Regions from separate parts of the Homo sapiens genome. Here region 1 is linked to region 2. Evidence: promoter capture Hi-C in 16 types of primary human blood cells and fetal thymus (Javierre and others, 2016). All regions are on one chromosome and are shown on one strand. Each heading gives the region's core, a stretch centred on a gene start or on the middle of the fragment in contact. The rest is flanking DNA. Distances are from core to core; before and after follow the strand shown.

The links. Contacts are between HindIII fragments. The CHiCAGO score rates a contact against its expected background, and 5 or more counts as called.
Region 1: the fragment with the promoter of OXCT1-AS1 here is called in contact with a fragment that was not itself captured in region 2 in 9 of 17 cell types (M2 macrophages, total CD8 T cells, M0 macrophages and 6 more); the score reaches 8.3 in M2 macrophages.

The regions. Positions count from the first base shown.
Region 1 is chr5:41,867,338-41,874,466 of GRCh38, reverse strand. It overlaps OXCT1-AS1 (OXCT1 antisense RNA 1), which reads right to left and starts at 4,437. Exons shown (of 3, transcript NR_046635.1): 1 at 4,275-4,437; 2 at 4,085-4,176; 3 at 2,226-3,701. It overlaps OXCT1 (3-oxoacid CoA-transferase 1), which reads left to right and starts at 4,042. Exons shown (of 17, transcript NM_000436.4): 1 at 4,042-4,186. The coding sequence starts at 4,109. It overlaps LOC102723752 (a long non-coding RNA gene), which reads right to left. Exons shown (of 3, transcript XR_925956.4): 1 at 4,865-7,129. RefSeq lists enhancers at 3,446-3,495, 4,326-4,405. The HindIII fragment of the contact is 3,584 bases long and covers 3,690-7,129 here.
Region 2 is chr5:42,904,522-42,910,766 of GRCh38, reverse strand. It overlaps the pseudogene PRELID3BP5. Among named protein-coding and RNA genes, the nearest start is that of FLJ32255, 86 kb to the left of the region's middle. RefSeq lists enhancers at 1,999-2,058, 2,189-2,238. The HindIII fragment of the contact is 1,271 bases long and covers 2,863-4,133 here.

The DNA of each region.
Region 1 (7,129 bases), core at 3,188-5,687, 1.0 Mb after region 2:
ACTTTCCAGCCTCCAGAACTGTGAGAAATACATTTCTTCTTGTAACTTACCCAGCCTAAGATATTTTGTTGTAGCAGCAAGAATGGACTAAGATAGCATCTGGGAAATAATTAATAATGTATAATCTTTTAACACCTGAATAATGCAAATATTGATCTAGAGATTACCTTACATCTTGACATTCTGTAAGCCCTGCTTAACTACTGCACCACAGAAGGCCGTATAGCTAGAGACTGCAGAGCTGAGACTTGAACCCTAGAAGCCTAACCACAGAATTCCTGCTCTTTATTATTTTGCTGTCAACACTTGATTCTGAGGTTGTGCAAATTCACTGTGTAAAAATCAAGAGGCACATATAGTTTGAAATATAAAGCAGACGTGTGGGGGAAAGGAAGACCAGAAGAGATGATCCTCTTCTATGTCATGTTATTAAGTATGAACTTTGGATCTCAAAGGCAGTGGGGAAAACCAATGACAGGTTTTAAGCAGAAATAAAGTGATCAGTCTTGAATGTATACAAGATCACTCTGGTGCATTTTACTCTTTTAGGTTTCCTTAGTATCTTATCATAATTTTCAATTTCATTCCAGGCCTTAAGCCCTCTCCAAGTATCTCATGCATTTATTTTACTTTTTTTCTGAGAAAACTACACTTTATAAAAATCAATCTATTTTTTCTTTAATCATTGAACAAATATTAAATACACACTAGTTAATACAAGGGACTCCTTTAAAGGATCTATGAAAATAAGCTTGCAAAATATGCAAATTAATGGGTGTCTTGCACTATAAAACAATACTTAGATTTACAGATTTATGTGAAATTTCAGATTTATGTCCTTCAAACCTACTAGAAGCAAATTGTTTGAAGGACTATGTTCTCCATATATTAAAGGACTATTGTGATAAAATGAAGCACGCATGCACTTTTATAAGTGACTCAAATGACCTACTTAAAAACTGCTATTTCTAGTGAAACCAGTTAATCAACATTTGAAAAACAAGTCTTCAGATGCCCCTGGTTATCATCCTGGGGAGTACACCATCAACTGTGAGAATAGGATGTCATATCTTGCACTAATGAGATATGCTAATGCATCATATTTTAGGAGAATTAAAATGAAACTCCTTAAAACAGAGAATAATTTACAATCTAATAAACTCTGACACATTACCTGCATGTATCTGATAAAATGGTGCCACACAGTCATGCCTTGCTTAATGACAAAGACAGGTTCTGAGAAATGAGATGCTAGGCTATTTTGTCATTGTGCTAATACAGAATATACTGACATAAACCTGGATGGTCTAACCTACTACACACCTAGGCTATATGGTATGGCTTATGCTCCTAGGCTACAAACTTGTACAGCATGTTACTGTACAATATTTAGTAGGCAATTGTAACATAATGGTAGTTATTTGTGTATTTAAATTTTTCTGTTCTTTCTTTTATTTTGAGACAGAGTCTTGCTCTGGCATGCAGAGGAGCAATCTCGGCTCACTGCAACCTCTGCCTCCCAGGCTCAAGCAATCCTCCTTACTCAGTCCCCACTGCCCACCCCACCCCAGTAGCTGGCTACAGGTGTGCTCCACCACACCAGCTAATTTTTTTGTTTGTCTGTTTTTGTAGAGACGGGGTTTCACCATGTTGCCTAGGCTGGTCTCGAACTCCTGGGCTCAAGCGATCCACTTGCCTTGGCCACCCAAAGTGCTGGGATTGCAGGCGTGGGCCACTGCACATGGCTAAACATTTCTAAACATAAAAAAGCTACAGTAAAATATGTTATTATAATCTTATGGGACCACCATCATATATGCTGTCCATTATTGACCAAAATGTTATGTAGCACATGACTTGGTGTATGTACACCCACACCCACACATACACATACGTATCATAACATAATACAAAAAAACAAAAAAAAATACAAAAAAACAAACAAAAAAATCTTTCCTCATTGCATGACTGGAATCAGACCTTTTGTTTAAAGGCTTTGAATCCAATTCTCCCAGTTTTTAAAAGTGTGGAAGTTAAACTGTAAGATTCCACAAAGAAAGGTTTCCAGAATATAACATATTTGCCAGAAACTGCCTTTCAAAGCAAGTGGGAAATATCCTTACTAGTTCGGAAAAGTTCAGATATTTAAAAGAAGTAAAATTTTGCACACCAATTAAAATTGAAGTGCCTTTGTGTAACTAGAAGTGAAATCAGCACATAAGAACTTTTTTTGTAATTTGTAATCTAATTTATTCAAGTTGAAGAGACTTGCACATTATTTAAAAAGTATAAAATGAAGTCACAGTCATCAAAAATACAGTACAGTGTGTTTTGACCATACAGTAATTAGGGTGATTTTCTCAGGAGACTTAGTCACATAGCATGCAACATTTAAAATGTGTCTTCCTCAGCCAAGAGCAACAAAGTGAGACCAGCCAAGAGTCAGTCATATGACCACCGGCAAAGTTGCCAATGCAGTTTTTCCATTTCATGTGCCCTGTGGAAGGGCAAAAGTGGAAAAGCAGACCCAATCGCAATGGGCAAAAGTGGAAAAGCAGACTCAATTGGAATGCTAGTTTTTTTCACATTGTGTAAGTTAAAGGTACAACAGCTGCTATATGCTAAATTATCACTAGTTATGGGACTTTAGTTACAGTACTTGAATTTCCCCCCAATCCAACTTCTTAAAATGTGTTGAAATACCAACTAGCAATAAGTTAATTTCTCCAGTGTAATTGAATAGTCTAACTTGGTATCTTACTCCTTAACTGATTTTGACTAAAATTATAATATTTACAGGAAAAAAAAAAGTTCAGAGTTAAAAGAATACCATGAAAGGGCAAATGATTTTATGGACAAACTTTGAACTGCATCTTCACTGTTCATTACCTTACTGTATTTGCTAAGGAAGCTAAGATCTCATTTAATTTTTGTGTGCTTTGCTTTGGTTCAAAACTAACATCACATTCTCAGAACTTGGTCAGGCCTTAATCAAATAAAATGCTATTGAGCTTCCACTTGGTCTTTCCACTCTGCTAAGTGCAAAGACAGTTCTGGAGAAATCAGTCGTGGCTCATGTCCTCAAGGAGTTGGTCAAAAGACAAGGCTTGGCGAATATGTACGTGCCATGTCAATGAACTGCTACAATGGAATAAACTTATAATAATGCCTAACATTTATTGACTCCTCATAATAAGGCCATAAACTTTGCATGAATTAACTCATAGAAACGTTATGACGTTGTATCACAAGCAATCCTAATTTGCAGATGAGGACACTGAGGCTTAGGGAAGTTATCTAACTTGCCTAAGGTTAAAGCAATATACTGCTTTTATGGTTGCATCTTTAGTAATCTCTGGGGTTGCTGGGACTCCAGTGCGAGAAAGAGCCCGAAATTCGCAAACTTGGATGATGGGGAAGAAAAGGTGTGCTAAACTCAGGTCACAGAGGTCCAGTCTTAATCTTGTTCCTCTGCAAGCCTTGTTGCTCACACCTCTTGACCGACAGTTCGAGGCAAGTGCTCACAGCAAACTTACTCTATGTAAGCCAAGGCCAGATGTGGGGAGAAGGGGCTGAGAAATGTTAGAAACGTGAACGCAGTCCAGGCGGGAGAAGAGAAGGGGGCCTCGAGGGGTGCCCCTATGCAGCCCACACACACGCCAGGCACTAACTTGGAAAAGCAACAAGCTTGGCGGGAGATCCTCCCGCGGCCGGAGGGCCCTGAACCCTAGGCCAAGACTCATCCACAACCTAGGGGGAGGCGGCCACCAGCGCCCCATCGAAGCTAAAGGGCTGACAGAAGGGCTGTAGCGGCAAGTGTGCGCCAACACAGCTGCACACGCCCAGACACCTGAGGCGCTGAGAGGAACTTCCCCGCGATCCGCCCCGGCTGCACAGAGCCTCTTCTCCCCGCCGGGGCCCCGCCCAGCCTCACTTCTTTTAAAAGCAGCAGCCAGCAGCGCGCCGGTGGCGTGCGGCTCGAAAGGCCGGGAGGACGTCATCGACGCGCTGTCGAGCCTCCAGCCCGCCCGGGTTTCCTTCGCAGTCGCGCACCGACGCTCAAACGCGCGCTCCAACCCGCAGCCTCCTCCTGCCTCACCGCCCGAAGATGGCGGCTCTCAAACTCCTCTCCTCCGGGCTTCGGCTCTGCGCCTCTGCCCGCGGATCTGGGGCAACCTGGTACAAGGTAAAGTGCGGGGGAAGAGGAAGGCCATGGGCAGGAAGAACGTGGACCAAACCCTGAGTGGTGCCCGCGTTTTCTTCTCTGCCCCTACCCGCTCTCTCCAGCCTGGGATCTGGCATCCGTGGCGCGGTGCCCTGGTCACGGACACGCGGCGACGCGTTCCTGGCCTCGCCGGCCCCTCGGATGACCGCCTTTGCTTGGTTCTGCAGTCGCTTCCCTGATGGAGCGAGACGCGATAAAGAAGCGCGCGGAGAGGCTGAGAAGGGGCGGGAGGACTCCTGGCAGCGCTCCCGAGCCCTTTGGCGCTCGTCGGCTTCCCTCCTGGCACCCGCCCTTGGATAGGGACTCTGAGGGTCTGAACGGGGGGAGGAGGGCGCCAGTATATGGAGGTTTAGGAGTGAGGCAACAGCGGGTAGGTTTGCGCCCCCGATGTTGGATCTCTGGGCAGAGGAACCTCTAGAGGCCCAGAACCTGAGGCTGGGTTAGCCATGGCTCTGCTCGAGTTCACCGGGGCTGGATGCCGGGTGCGGCGGGTGTGGAATGCCGCTCCCATCCTCTCCTCCCTATTTGGCTCTGCTGCCCCGTAGACTGGAGCGCTCGCCAGGGCGTCTTGCCGGCCAAGCTGGGAAACCATCCGAGGTGTGTCCCTGGCCCGCGCCTGGGCTGCAGGGGAGGACAAACCTTTCTCTCGAGGCCCCTCGTATCCGGGTTAGGGGCTTTCGGTTTTCAGAGCCCTTTGAAATCCTTTTTGTGCCCCACTGCCGACTCTCCACCGAGTGGTATCCGGAGGCATTCCCACCGTGGACTGACTTGTGGTTTTGCCTTATGCACTGTCCTCGCTTGTAAGCCCACCCCTGTCTGGAGCCCTAGGAGCGAATTACAGGACCAGAGCGCCAGGTCCAGGAGGGTGGCTTTATCCCCGCCGTCTCAATCGCGGGAGCCTCTTCCTTGGTATTCAGTAATAGGTCTGAGCTTGACAGCGTGCCATGCACACGGTGCTTACTCCTGAAGCGTGCCTGCCTGGCCCCATTGCTCTTTCCTGCATCCAATCCCTGACCGCTGAGAACACAGAGGAGCCACTGAGCTCCTTCGGTAGGTGCTAGGGAATGGTTCAGAACTGGACCATTTTACTCTTAAATGCCTCTTAGGAAGCATTTTTATAACTGCAGATAGACTTGGATATATAAAGCATTATTAAAAGGGAACTTGACCTTCAGTGAGATTGCAGCGGTGCTGAAGCTAATACAAACCAGAGCACAGCGATACCCTTGGGCCGAGGTCAGGAACGTTCCTTCTTTTGACAGTTACTGATTTGCCCAACTGTAATTTACTCACTTCAAGTCTTTTCCATCTTGAGTATATCATTAAACCATTTCCGAAGCTCAGCAAACCTCATCTTAGAGGGACGAGATGCAAATAAGGGGTTCTGCTATATCTCATTAAAAGTTCATACAGAGTTCAAACTTAGCCCTGTCAGGCTTGATTATCATAGGTCTAACTCCTGCCTTCCACTATTCCCCTAGCTTGTGGCTCTTAGTGCCCTTATTGTTTTTTTTTTTTTGAGACGGAGTCTCGCTCTGTCGCCCAGGCTGGAGTGCAGTGGCGGGATCTCGGCTCACTGCAAGCTCCGCCTCCCGGGTTCACGCCATTCTCCTGCCTCAGCCTCCCAAGTAGCTGGGACTACAGGCGCCCGCCACTACGCCCGGCTAATTTTTTGTATTTTTAGTAGAGACGGGGTTTCACCGTTTTAGCTGGGATGGTCTCGATCTCCTGACCTCGTGATCCGCCCGCCTCGGCCTCCCAAAGTGCTGGGATTACAGCCCTTATTGTTTAGCACTTTAAATCCTCACCTGCTGCTTCTGTTGAACTGTACCACTTATCTACTTGTTTAACTTTTCAGATGTGTATATTGTCTCCTCAACCAGATGACAGTTCCCCGATGGCAGAGACCATATTTATGCCTTACACTTAGTCTCCCTCAACAAACACACTACTCTGCATAGATCAGATATTCTACACATGTTTAAAGTACGGATGAGAGAACCCTCCAGGCAAACAGAAACCTTGAGTTTTTCCACTAAACATAACTAACAGCTAAAACGAGATAGTTATTTTCTTAAATGTTTAACATTTTTATAATGGGCAGGCCCAGTGTCTCGCAGACCTGAGAGTGCATCAGCATTACCTGGAGGTTTTCTAAAACAGATTGCTGTACCCACCCCCAGAATTTCTAATTTAATAGGTCCTGGGTGGGGCCCTAAACTTTGCATTGATAAGTTCCAGGTGATGTTGATGCTGCTGGTCTGGGGACTGACTGCCCCTTTCAGAGTTATCTGGCATGGACTTAGGTGAAAATAGACTATTGGGAGGTATCTTCTTTTCTTCATTATTACTGAGGGGCAGTGGGGAGCATTTAATACTATTTTCACTATAGAAAATTATTAGTGGGAAAAAGGTTATAAGAGTACCACTAACACTTTACCCACCATTCATCCTTGACCCTGTCTTTTCCCAAATCTCTTTCCAACCTCTGACTCTCCTGAGCTGCAGTCCTTCTGGTGCAACTGGTGAACTTCACTTGGATGTCAGTTGGTGCTTAAAGCTCTTTCTGATCCAAAGCAAACTAGCCATAAAGTGGCTTTCCCATTCCTTGTTTTGTTCTTCTATCACTGTGCTTAACAGCACCAGTATCCATCCAGTATATAAGCTGGAAATCCTGGAACCATCTTCTCTTCTCCTTGCTGCACTTCCAATTGATCACCAAGTGTCATATGTGTGCCTCTTTCTGAAATGTTCCTCAGTGCTGTCCCTGGCATTCTTTCTCAGCAACTGTTTCTTCCTTATAGCTCCCCAATTAAATACTATGATTGTGTTTAAAATTTTGTAATTATTTAATGACTACTATCTTTGCTAGTTTGTAAGTTTCATTATAGCAGGGGCTATGTC
Region 2 (6,245 bases), core at 2,249-4,748:
CCAAGACACAGGTCACAATACCCTCTTGATAAGACATGATTCCTTTAAAAAAAAAAAAAAAAAAAAGCCCAAACCAGTTAGAAGGAAGATGGCTACATAAGCAACCTCTGGTTACCCTCGTTGCTCATTATATGCTCATTATTATGCATTGGGATGCTAAAAGACACTAACACCCGAGCAATCACTGTGACTGTTTACAAATGCCATTGCAATGCCCAAGAGTTACTCTGTATATTCTGTAAGGGGGAGAAACTCCTGGTTCCACAAGCTCCCACCCCTTTCCCAGATAACTAAAGAAATAATTGACCCCTTGTTTAGCATATAATCCAGAAATAGCCATAAAATAGCCAGCTAGCCACCCTGGCCCCATTGCTACCCTGACTATGGGGTAGCCTCCTTTTTGTTCCTTAGTTTCCTTAATAAACTTGCTTTCACATTACTCTGTTGGCTTGCTCTTGAATTCTTTCTGGCTCAAAGTCAAGTATCTACTTGGTCTCCCAGGCTAAACTCCAATTTTAGGGGTATCCTTGCATCAACAGCACCACTGCCTTCAGCCAATTCCCCGGAAGGAGCTCCTCACACCCCAGTGGAGACCCTCATTATGTTATTGTAAACTTCCTTGGGACTGTTCATCTAGGAACAAGAAGTCTCTATGATGGAGATAATTCCTTATATAGTTCTTCCTCTCCAAAGTGCCTTAAAGTTTTCTCAATTATACAACTTTGATTTATATGTAATCAAGAATATGCTAAGGGGCTTTACTTTTAGATCAACTCAGAATTCATAGTTCTTTGTACATGACAATTGAAGCCTGTTCCTTATTCTCCACCTGTGTGGAGTCAGGACTGCTCTCTGCGGTCCAGGCTGTCCCCGGAAGCTGCTGAAAACCGACGATTCCATCAAGAAGGAACCCGGAAAGGAGAGAAACCCCTGCCTTTCTGCAGGCCTGCAGTAGGACCTGCTTCAACTGCTGCCCTGGAAGGAGCCCGAGGCACCTCAGTGGGAACCCTCATGCTGTCTCTGGGGACTTTTGCACTGGAACTGTGCCCTGCACGCATAAGAGCCTTGAGGTCTTTGCTGTGGAGATCATTCCATAATTTGTTCTTCCTCTCCTGAATGTCCTAAACATTTTTATTTAGAAAAACTCTCTTCATGTAGTGAATAATATGCAATGTGCTAAGGAACTTTTCTTTTAGATCTACTCAAAATTGTGATGGTTCTTCCATCGAAACTGTACACATTGATTAAAGCCTTTCCCTTATTCTCCAACTGTGGAATCAAAACTAGTAAATCAAGGTTGGTATAGATGGGCCTGAAGCAGACAGAAAGGGGGCAGGGACCTAGCTCAGAGCTTTTTCTTTTTCTTTTGAGTCTTATTATTATTTAAGATGGGGGTCTCGCTGGGTCGCCTAGGCCGGTGTGCAGTGGCGTGATCAGGCTTTAGTCTAAATTCCAGGGGCCTTTGAGGAGCTGTGGATACTAACAGGGTGGGAGGGGACAGCTGGGTGGATCATATGCTGGAGTTGCTTTGAAACTGACTGTGGCCCTCCAAATAAAGGCAGAAAACAGGCATTAGCACTGTTCTTTAAATCAGGGGTCCCCAATCCCCCCCACCACGGACCGGTTAGGAACCCGGCCCCAAAGCAGGAGCTGAGCAGTGGGCAAGCGAGCATTACTGGCTGAGCTCCGCCTAGCGTCAGATCTGCTGCATTAAATTCTCACAGGAGTGCGAACCCTATTGTGAACTGCGCATGCGCAGGACCAAGACTAGCTTTTGCTCTCCTTTTGAGAATCTATTGCGTGCCTGATTATTTGATTTCTAACACCTTCATCCCGAAACCATCCCCACACCCCTCTCCATCCGTAGAAAAATTGTATTCCACTAAACTGGTCCCTGGTGCCAAAAACGTTGCGGATCTCTGCTTTAAATGGTTTAAATGTTACATTGTAACGAAGAGTGGAGGACCGCCTCACTTGGAGCCGACGGCACCTGCGCACAGCGAAGCTGGTTGAAGGGCCCCCGACGGGGTGGGACAGGTGTAGCCTCCTCACCTCATTTTCCCCTGCGCTTCACAGACATCTAGCAGACTGCCTGCACCATCAAGATCTGGACTGCAGAGCACGTCTTTCACCACCCGTGGGAAACTGTTACAACAGCTGCAATGCACAAATACCCAAGCCCTGCGAACCTGAGCAGGGTGTGGGTTGATGTGTTGGAAGGATATATAGATCCCTCTGGAAAGTTGCAAGGCCACAGACTTCTCTGCACAGAGTGGGAACTGCAAGTCCCTTACTGTTGCAGCAAGAGCCAAAACATAGTCTTCAGGACCCAGAAAAAAAACTATTTTGACTCAAGAAACCACAATCATTGTGAAAAGAATCAGCCTCAGCAGTTACCTTGAAGAACTGAAGACAAGTACAATATCTTCAAATGCTAATAAAGGCTGAGAAGCACTGGAATGGGTAATACTTAAACTACATGTTAAGATTGAGAAATTGCTGGCTTCAAAAAGAGGAAGCATAAGAACTCGGATAGTAGCAGCATCATTTACAGAGAAATGATAATGGATGTTGGAAGACATCAAGTACCCCAGGTGTCTCCAACCTTGCAATCTGTTATTTTAAAACCGTATCTTAGGTAGAATTTTTAAAAAATAGACTGATAGAAGACTTTGTGACATGGAATAAAAACAAAGAGGTTCAGGGTGTCTAAATAAAAGGGATCATCTAAAATAAGTGTTGTTTGAAATGATTGTCTAATTTTGAGAGTTCCAGTATTTATGTGAAAATTTAAAAATTTTTCAAAAAGTACTTGGCAGTTTGCATTGACATTGAATCATTTTGAGGTAGAATTTTAAAGCTTTTAACACCTGGGAACACTACCTGACTTTGGTGGAACTTCAGAACAAAGCAGAGCCACCTCTTATATACACACAATTGCCCTGCTGCCATAAACTTCAACAGCTTGCATAAGGAACTTCACTTTAAAAGGAGAAATTGCTCAGTTTTAAATGATATTAATGTGTATAAAATAACTTGCTCTGCTATAAACCACCATTAAAAACCAGTGTTTTGGTTTAGTACTTGAATATTTTTGGAGTAAAAATTATCCCTAAAGTAGTATATGACTCCCAGAAACATATGCTTTTATTATAATAAAAAGTAATATATTGATTTGTCAAAGTTTTATAACATAGTAAAGGTATTACCTTCCTTGGATTTGTACTTTATGCTTTAATATGCTGTACCATGAGCTGGCTACATTAATTGGAAAAATAAATTCATTACTTGAAAAACAAAAGAGAAAATGAAGAGTGGGGATAGACTAACGGGGACTGAAAGAAGATCCCTAGCCTTGTGCCTTCTGAGTTAACAACCACAGGGTTCCAGAGCATCAACTCCAGATCAGACAATTCCAGGCAGCTACAGATGTCTGCCTTGGTGAGTCTTGCCCAGGATCTGGAAGTCCAAGATGAAAGCGCCAGTGATTCAGCTCCTGGTGAGGGCTGTCTTCCTGTCATGCCAATGGCCATGTTGTAGCTGTGTTCTCACATGGCACAGAAGGAGAGAGAGAAGTGGGTAGAGGGGCAAGAGAAGAAAGGGAGAGAAGGAGAGGGACCTGGTATCTCTTCCTCTTCTCATAAGGGCACTAATCCCATTATGAAACCCCAACCCTCATGACCTCATCTAAACTTAATTGTCTCCCAAAGGCCCCATCTCCAAATACCATCACTTGGAGATTAGTTAATCAAAATTATCATGAATTTTGGGGGAACACAATTCAGTGCAGAACACCAAGTGTATGGGAGGCTCTCATAATCTCTGCCCATCTCAGGTCCTGCAGCAACTAAGACTCATTCCTTCTTGTGGGCATCCCAGGAGAAAGATTTATGTGTCTTCACAACTTTAGTGTAAAGATTTGGTGTAAAGGTTTCCAGCCTTTACACCAAAATCCTTGGGCAGAGATGAAAAACATGCAGTAGAGAATACACTTGGGACTTTTACACTTTTCTGTCCCCTCAAATGTTAGAAATCAAAACCCATAAACTAGATGACAGCATTAATCTAGTCTAGCTGTGATTACATCAATCTTTTCACATAGTGGCAGTTCTAAGTATCAGTATAGAGAAGCTTAGATGTTGCATCTTATTGGAACGTGGAACTAGAGCTGTGTTTGCTTTGCACTCATTATTAGACTAATTACATGTCAATTATCCATGTCATAAAAAATAAGCAGATGGTGAAAGATGAGTTAGAGTGTTTTTGTGGTTTGGATATGGAGGGGGCTTCCCATCTTATCATCCTCATTTTCTGTTCTGAAGTCTCAAAATCTACTTAAAAAAAAATAAAACCACAATCCCAATCCTCTGATAACCCATTATTCCATTAACCAATTAACCGTTAATCCATAAATGGATTAAGACATCAAACGGGCAGAGCCCTCAAGACCCAATCACTGCTTAAAGGCCCTACCTCTCAATATTGCTACATTGGGGATTAAGTTTCAACATGAGTTTCAGAAGGGACAAATATTCAAACCACAACATCCCTGAATGGCAATTAATTGTAAAGAGAAATTAATTGTTATCTTAGATGACATGATCGTGATTTCAATTTGAAACCTTTTGAAGGTCTAGGGGATAAAGGGACTATGAATGCAGCCCTGGCTTTGGCTCCCTCAGGGTGGCCTCTGTGTGCAACACCCAGGTTAGATTATCTGCTAAGATTTCCTCTGGGCTGGCCAATCTGAAAGCAATATGGAATTGTGTAATCCAAGGGCTCCTGAACACAAGGGAAAAGGTGTTTCATCCAGTCTCACAGCAGGAGACATCAGCTTTTGAGTTTTTACACTTTTCTGGCCAAGTGCCTGGTCCTAATCAGATCATAGGAAGCATAGTGGTGATATTAATTCTAGAAGCAAATTGTAACAGAAGATGGAATTACTGGTATTAACATAAAACCCTAACATCTTAGACGAAACTCAATCTGTGATAGGGTGGTTTAAGTGATAAAAAGAAAAGGTACTCCTTAACCTGTGGAGGGAAAGCTCTTTTGAGGAACCCTGGTTAATAGTTTATTATTGCCCCAAACCACATTGCTAGTCCTGGAGCAGAGACTGCAATCTTGTTCTCCAGGCAGAGAAAAGCTTGAGGAGAGGTGTGTCCTCAAAGACAACTTGGGATGTTAGTGAGAAGCAGGGCAGTGGTAGTCACTCAATTCTTTCATTTCCTTCTTGTCTTTTATTTTCTATTTATTTTTATTGTGGTAAAATACATATAACAAAATTTACCATCTACCATGAATTCTGAGTCTATCTAGAAGTAAAGTTCCTTAGCATATTCTTGATTACACAAAGATAGTTTTTATAATTTGGAAATCTTTGAGGTACTTTGGAGAAGAAGAACTAAATAAGGAATGATCTCCATCATAGACTTCTTGCTCCTAGTACTTTGGAGAGGAAGAACTAAACAAGGAATGATCTCCAACATAGAAACTTCTTGCTCCTGTTGCCTCTATCTAGAAGGCAGAGTCCCAAGCAAGTTTACAATAACATCATGAGGGTCCCCACTGGGGTGTGAGGAGCTCCTTCCAGGGCATTGGTTGAAGGCAGTGGTGCTGTTGATGCAAGGATACCCCCAGAATTGGCATTCAGCCAGGGAAGCCAAGTGGATACTTTGCTTGTACCAGAAAGAATTCAAGAGCAAGCCAAAAGAGTAATGTGAAAGCAAGTGTATTAAGGAAACAAAAAGAAGGCTACCCCCGTAGTCAGGGTAGCACCAAGGGACAGGGCAGCTAGCTGGCTATTTTATGGCTATTTCTTGATTATATGCTAAATGAGGGGTCGACTATTTCTTTAGTTATCTGGGAAAGAGGCAGGAGCTTGTGGACCGGGGGTTTATCTACCTTACAGAAGATACAGAGTAACTCTTGGGGATTGCCATGGCACTTATAAACAGTCATTGCTCTGGTGGTAGTCTTTTAGCATGCCAATGCATAATAATTAGCATATAACGAGCAATGAAGGTAACCAGAGGTAGCTTTTATGCCATTTTCCTTCTAGCTGGTTTGGGCTTTTTTAAAACAATTTTTAAATTTTTTTTAAGGAATCTTGTACCGGGTACTGTGACCTGTGTCTTGGGGACCTAGCATCCTGTTTGTCTTGAGAAACTAGTCCTGCCAAACTCCTATCTCACTGTGAGTAATGAGCAAGAAAAGTTTTTTTTCCCTTTCAGGGTTCTTCAGTA